Linked DNA regions of Homo sapiens: region 1 is linked to region 2. Evidence: promoter capture Hi-C in human tissues and cell types (Jung and others, 2019). All regions are on one chromosome and are shown on one strand. The core of a region is centred on a gene start or on the middle of the fragment in contact, and the rest is flanking DNA. Distances in the headings are between cores, read along the strand shown.

Evidence for each region. Contacts are between HindIII fragments. The study calls those that stand out against the background at their distance.
Region 1: a contact is called between a fragment that was not itself captured here and the fragment with the promoter of PSTPIP2 in region 2, in 2 of the 25 tissues and cell types used here (H1 embryonic stem cells and aorta).

What each region holds. Positions count from the first base shown.
Region 1 is chr18:45,637,340-45,640,465 of GRCh38, reverse strand. It overlaps SLC14A2 (solute carrier family 14 member 2), which reads right to left. Exons shown (of 20, transcript NM_007163.4): 7 at 573-720. The region is part of intron 7 of LOC105372093 (a long non-coding RNA gene); the gene reads left to right. Among named protein-coding and RNA genes, the nearest start is that of SLC14A2, 23 kb to the right of the region's middle. The HindIII fragment of the contact is 5,893 bases long and covers 1-3,126 here.
Region 2 is chr18:46,070,927-46,073,719 of GRCh38, reverse strand. It overlaps PSTPIP2 (proline-serine-threonine phosphatase interacting protein 2), which reads left to right and starts at 1,460. Exons shown (of 15, transcript NM_024430.4): 1 at 1,460-1,564. The coding sequence starts at 1,532. RefSeq lists silencers at 1,165-1,324, 1,455-1,504, 1,545-1,924 and enhancers at 1,054-1,555, 2,775-2,793. The HindIII fragment of the contact is 22,245 bases long and covers 1-2,793 here.

The DNA of each region.
Region 1 (3,126 bases), core at 442-2,941, 430 kb after region 2:
AACAATTTTCTTTGTATCTTACCAAAAATTTCAGAGTGCTGGGCCATTTATTTTATCACAGTTGGTCTTGGTTACTGCTCCCGCCCCTACCCCTGTGTCTCTCCAGCATCCTCAGCTCCAGGGGCTCAGTTTGCAGGCCAACTTGGTTCTTACCCCCTTGCATCTCTCCACATGTATTTTTTTTTTTTTTAAGACGGAGTCTCACTCTATTTCCCAGGCTGGAGTGAGGTGGTACGATCTTGGCTCATTGCAACCTCCACCTCCTGGGTTCAAGTGATTCTCCTGCCTCAGCTCCCCAAGTAGCTGGGATTATGGGTGCCCACCACCACACCCAGCTAATTTTTGTACTTTTTTTTCTTTAGTAGAGATGGGTTTTCACCCTGAGTTCAGGTCATCTATGTGCCTCGGCCTCCCAAAGTGCTGGGATTACAGGCATAAGTCACCGTGCCTGTCTCCCTGAAAGTATTTAAAACTGCAGGGAAGAGAATGTCTGGAAGATTTGCTGTATGTAGGGGAAAAGTGACCTTGAGTGAATTATCCTGAGGACCTGAAGAGAGGGAGCTCTGTCCTACCTGCTAGCAGCCCCACGATTGAGCCAATGGCTGCATGCAAGCAGATGAGTGGCGAGGAGATGAACAGAGCCACCAGGAACACGCCGCCTGTCCAGGGATTGTCACAGCCATACACCTGGCCGACCCCAACAGGGATGGCTTGTAACAGCTGCAAAGTTAACAGAATACAGGTCACTGGAGCATGGACAATAATGCAAAAACCAGACTCAGGGCCAGATTTGAGCCATTCCTCGGGGGAGTAATGGAGTGGAACGGGAGGATGACTGTACCCTCCAGCATGTGAGAGAACATGGGAGGCATGAGCTGGAACAAACAGCTCCTCACTCTACCACCCAGCAGGCATGTGAGCATCCCTCATGCAAAGCCAGGGCCCCCAACATGGGCTGGGCATGGATGCTTCTGAGGAACATACGGCTTCTGCTTTGAGGGGACCAGAATGCACCTCCTCCCTAGAATGCCGCTGGGAGTTTCAGGGCTCTCGGGGATTTCCTCTAGACCTTCTGAAATCCATACAAATATTCTAGGAATATTGAAAATACAGTAGGCCATTTTGATGTATGATTTGACTAAAAGTCACCCAGCCTGTTGTTGGTCAAGTGCAGGCTAGAGGCTCTGAGCTTGACCCCTAGCTCAGGTCTGAGGTCTTTGTCACCCTTGCTGTCTCTTTGTCAAGCCACTGCTGACACGTCCTCTTTGGCGGCCCCTGCCCATTCACTGCTACCCTGGGGGGTTGTGAGCCTTTGGAAAGGAGCAGTAGGCATGCCCCCTGCTCTCGAAGACCGCATAGCATTGTAGAAAGGTAGTATGTGGCACATCTGGAGAATGGCCTGAAGCCCAGACATCCCTGAGCCTGAGAGTAACTTGGTGCTGGAATTGGGGAGAATTTGTTTGGCAGTGCTGACAGATGGCTTTTCTGTGGCCAGGCTGAATTGTCGATATTTTTGGAGTCCTTTGAGGGCAGAAAAAGAAAGGAGGGAGAATGGCAGGGCAGGCAGAGCACTGGCCTGGGAGTAGAGGGCTCTAGCTTCCATCAGGGCTCTGCACAGTTCACTGTGTGACTGTGAGCATGTCACATCCTCGTCTGTAACAAGAGGCTGGCTTGGCAGATGATCTTCCAGCTTTAAGACTCTGTAGTTCTTTTCACCATTGCCAGGTCACATGACCTCTGTGAGGACAGGGCCCTTTATGCCCAGGTACACCATAGGTGCTTAACAAATAGGAATTGATTAGGTCAGTGGTTCCCAAACTTTGCTGTACAGTGGAATCCCCTGGGAATCTTTAAACAAATACTGATGCCCAGCTCTTCCCTAGACATTCTGATTTAATTGATATGGGGCATGGCAGGTCCTCAGGTGAGTCTAGTGTGCGATGGGAGATTAGTTATAGATGATCTACTGTAGACGTTGCTGTAGATGTTGGGAATAATTTAGTTTCTCCCTTTGGACCAAATTTTGTACTTTTTGACAATTTGATTTAATTCTGGAATAAGTATGATTTCTTCAGGGAGTAGTATTTGAAGAGCCTAGAGGGCTCTTAAACTTTGCTCACTCTTGTCTCTGAATGAATGGTCTTTTAATAACCAAATGCTGTTTGGACCAGAGTTTATAATCTTGCGAAAGGAATGGCAAGGGAGGGGTACTCAATCATATTTATTTATAGAAACCCAGAAAACACTTTGTACCAGACCAGGGAACTCAGCTTAAATGTTGGGAACAGGCTGGAAGTCTATTTAATAAATATCCCATGATTGCCAACATCTGAGGAATGCGGGATGCTGAGGGGAGTTCACGTCCACCTTTCCATCCGGGAACGCAGATTTTAAGCCCAAGCGGTCAAGAATGAGAGGAATGAGGGAATGAGTGGCCTTGGAATGGAGCCTGGGTTTAGAATGAAGCTTCCTCCGCTGGGATCTATATTTCAGCCTGGTGAGCTGTGCCCCAGGGCGGCCTTCCCTCCCAGCACGCTGCTCCCAGGCCGCAGCTGACACCCTGGTGTGAAGGGCAGTCAGGTGTGCCATGGAAATTTACTAAGCACCAGGCCTTCTTCACACTCCTCATAATTCTTATATAGCAACAATAAGCTGATTAAACAAAAAGGAAAAGGAAGGCCTTTCTCTGTTGTTTCAAAGAGAAAGAGGGAAGTGGCCTGGGAGCAGCGTGCTGGGGACCTCTCTAGTCTTGACAATAAAAATGTCTCCAGACATTGCCTAATGTCTCCAAGGGGCAAAATTATCCCTGCCTGAGAACCACTAAGAGAGAGAGTATATAAAAATTAACCCTCTGTCTTCTATGCTAATGCCTTTAAAATCCCAATTTTAAATGTTTATTTTAGTATCTTGCCCCTTTATCTGACTATACATTTTATCTAATATCTTTCACTCAACCACCACAGTTCTGTACTGTCAACGCTTATCTGTTCACTTGCATGTTATCTGTTTCCCCGTATAGAATGTAGGCTTCCTAAGAGCAGGATGTCATTGTCTTGTATTATCAGTATCTGAAAAAGTGTCCAGGCCATGTTACATGCTCAATAAGTACTGTTGAAAGGATCTATG
Region 2 (2,793 bases), core at 211-2,710:
TCTATGTCCCCAGTTTGTGCCATTTCTTACCCCCTGCAGTTAAGCCTAGCTTCCTAGTGCCTACCACGTCCTCTGCTGCCCCTTGATGGTTCTGCCAGGCTTCTCTGCCTTCCTTCTAATCTCACTGCTTTCAAAGGATATGAGCAAGTACGTAAATGGATGCATCCCTTGGAGATGCTTGGTGGCTGGAGGCCACCTCTCCATCTTTGCAGTTGTGGATGACTTTATTGGTGGGAGTTCATCTGAGTGGGGCTGGCTGCAGTTTTATGGAGCAGAACTTGTTCCAGGTGCTTCACATAATTCTAGCAATTGCCCTTTCACTGTGTCTGGGTGTAGCTAGAACCTGCTCCAGGGGTGAGTGCTTGCTTCTCCAGGCTGGGCTGGTGCCAGTCTTGGCAACCTTGACCTTTATCCTCCCCACTTTGAGCACCTATTCCTCTGCCCAGGATGGATCTGCCCCAGGAAGGATGTCTGTCTTTGCATCTATTTAGAAGGGCAGAGCTCTAACCTTGAGCTCTTCATCCCTTAAATAAACTGTGATCTTGGGCAAGCCATTCAACCCCTCTGGGCCTCAGGTTGGGCTTCGGGCCTGTCGCACCAGGCAGTACTTTGTCATAAGCCCTGCATTACTATTAAAAGTCATGGCAAAAACCGCAATTACTTTTGTACCAATCTACTACAATGCAGAGAGGGGTCTGACCTGCCCTGGGGTTTTATTTGTGAGGGTGGAAGAGTGGAGGGAGAAGAAGGAATCTTGGGCCCCTCTTGCTGGGGTGGAATGGGCAGGGAAGGGTCTTGCCTTTTGAGAATGGAAAGGGAGTCAGAGAGCGGCTGAGCTCCTGGAAGCCCTGTTAGGACACCACCAAGTGACTAGAGTCAAGGGGAAACAGCAGAGATGACCTCTCCATGACATTTTAGACTAAAACGTGACCCCATTCATTAAAAACACCTGCAACAACAAAAAGTAAAATAAAAAATGAACCGTCCCCCAGGGCCTGATCTGCAGCAGGTGCCGGTGGGGCCCGCCGTGAAGCCAAGGCGTCTGCGGGAGTTGTCGGCCCCAGGCCTTCTGTAGCTTAAACCGGGTCCTCGCGACCATCTGATCAGATCCCGTCTATCACCCCGCAGAGCCTGGATTTCGTGCTGTCCAGGGGGCCTTGTGGGCAGGAACCCAAGCCAGGACCAGTTATTTCCAATACCCAAAGACTTCCAGAAGGAGGCAGCTAGCTTCGGGCTGATATATTGATCGTGGCCCGACGCTGTGGGGCTTTAAATGGGCCTGGGTCCGGGTGCGGGCTGCAGCCCCTGGCCGGGTGAGCGCCGAGGGTCCCGCCCAGGTCTCGCGCAGGGAGCGCAGAGCGCCGACGGCGGCCGTCGCAATCGGGAGTGGTTTAGGACCCGGGGGCGGCTTCCCTGCGCGAGTGTGGAACGCAGAAGTTGAGTCTGCGGAGCCGCGGGCAGTGGCAGTCAGGCCTCCCCGCTCTGTGCTACCTGCGGCCCGGCTCTCCTCCGCGCCCCCACTCGCGCTGCGATGACGCGCTCACTGTTCAAGGGAAACTTTTGGGTAAGTCGTGGGGCCGACAGCGGATCGCGGGGCTCAGGACCCGGCCCGGGCGGGAGGCCAACGCGGCGGGCGTGGGGGGCTCCCCAGCTCCGGCGCCACTCGGTGACCGCGCGCCCGGGGGCTTGGCGGAGCTCGCGCGTGAAGGGATCGGGGCCCCAGCCCCACTGCTCGAGGGGCAGACTTGGAGCGGACGCCGGGCTGCTGTTCCCTCTCTGTCCCCCGCTACCCACCGCGTGCCCGCGAGTCCCGGGGGCTCGGACTCCAGGGCCCACCCTCTGCCGCCCGCGCCCCCAGCAGCGCGTGCTCCTGAGGACGCAGAGAGCCGAGACACCTTAGAGTCAGGACATCAACCCCTCCTCTCACAGGCGAAGCAGAGACCCTTAGGGAGGCGAGACCCGTCCGGGGAGAGTCTCTGCCGGTCCCTGGAGCTGAGCCGTGAGAGGATCTGGGGGGATCTGGTGTGGGGGCTTGTGAGCTTTACCGGGTTGACAGCAGCAGCTGCCCCCCGGGATCGTCCTTTCCAGGAAACGTACAGCATAGAGGGCTTCCCTTTGCTGGAGCTTTCCCTGTTCTACAGCCTTGTTTCCCGAGCCCCCTCCCCAGGCCATTGCCCCAGCCCTTCCGTCCAGGCCCCATAGCGGGGCTGATGGTGTGGGAGACCCTATAAGCTGGAGGGGGTACCCCACCCAGCCCGGTAGGGCCAGCCCAGCCTGGAGGGAGCAGGTCTGCCTGTCCCCCTCCTCTGTCTAGTCCTCTTCCCTCTGTCCTCTCACTCCCCAGGTGCCCCTCAAGGTCCATGCCCCCTCATTCAGAGGAGCTGTCCTCATCCCTTTAAGACAGGAGCAGGAGGCTGCAAACCTCAAAGTTGACCGCAGCTGCCAAGGGGCCCTGACTCCTTACTGGGGCTCCTGCTTGCCTCCCCCCACCACCCACCCAGGTAGCTTCACAGCTGCCTAGATGGTCCCTCTACCCCACGTGGGCTGCAGGGTAGAGAAACCTGGCTGGGGACCTCAGGGACACAGTTGAGACTGTGCCTGTGAGTCCCTTCACTGGAGTTTGTGAGGTCCTTCTGGGGCACTACTCACCCTAGGGTGCAGGGTGGTGGCAGCCTCACAGAGGAACCAAGGGCACCACAGATGGCTCTCACGGGAGGCTTGCGAGTTTTTCAGGTAGAATGGAGGACTGGGGGATCCCATGGCAGGCACTGTGGGAAAAAGGCTCTGTATAAT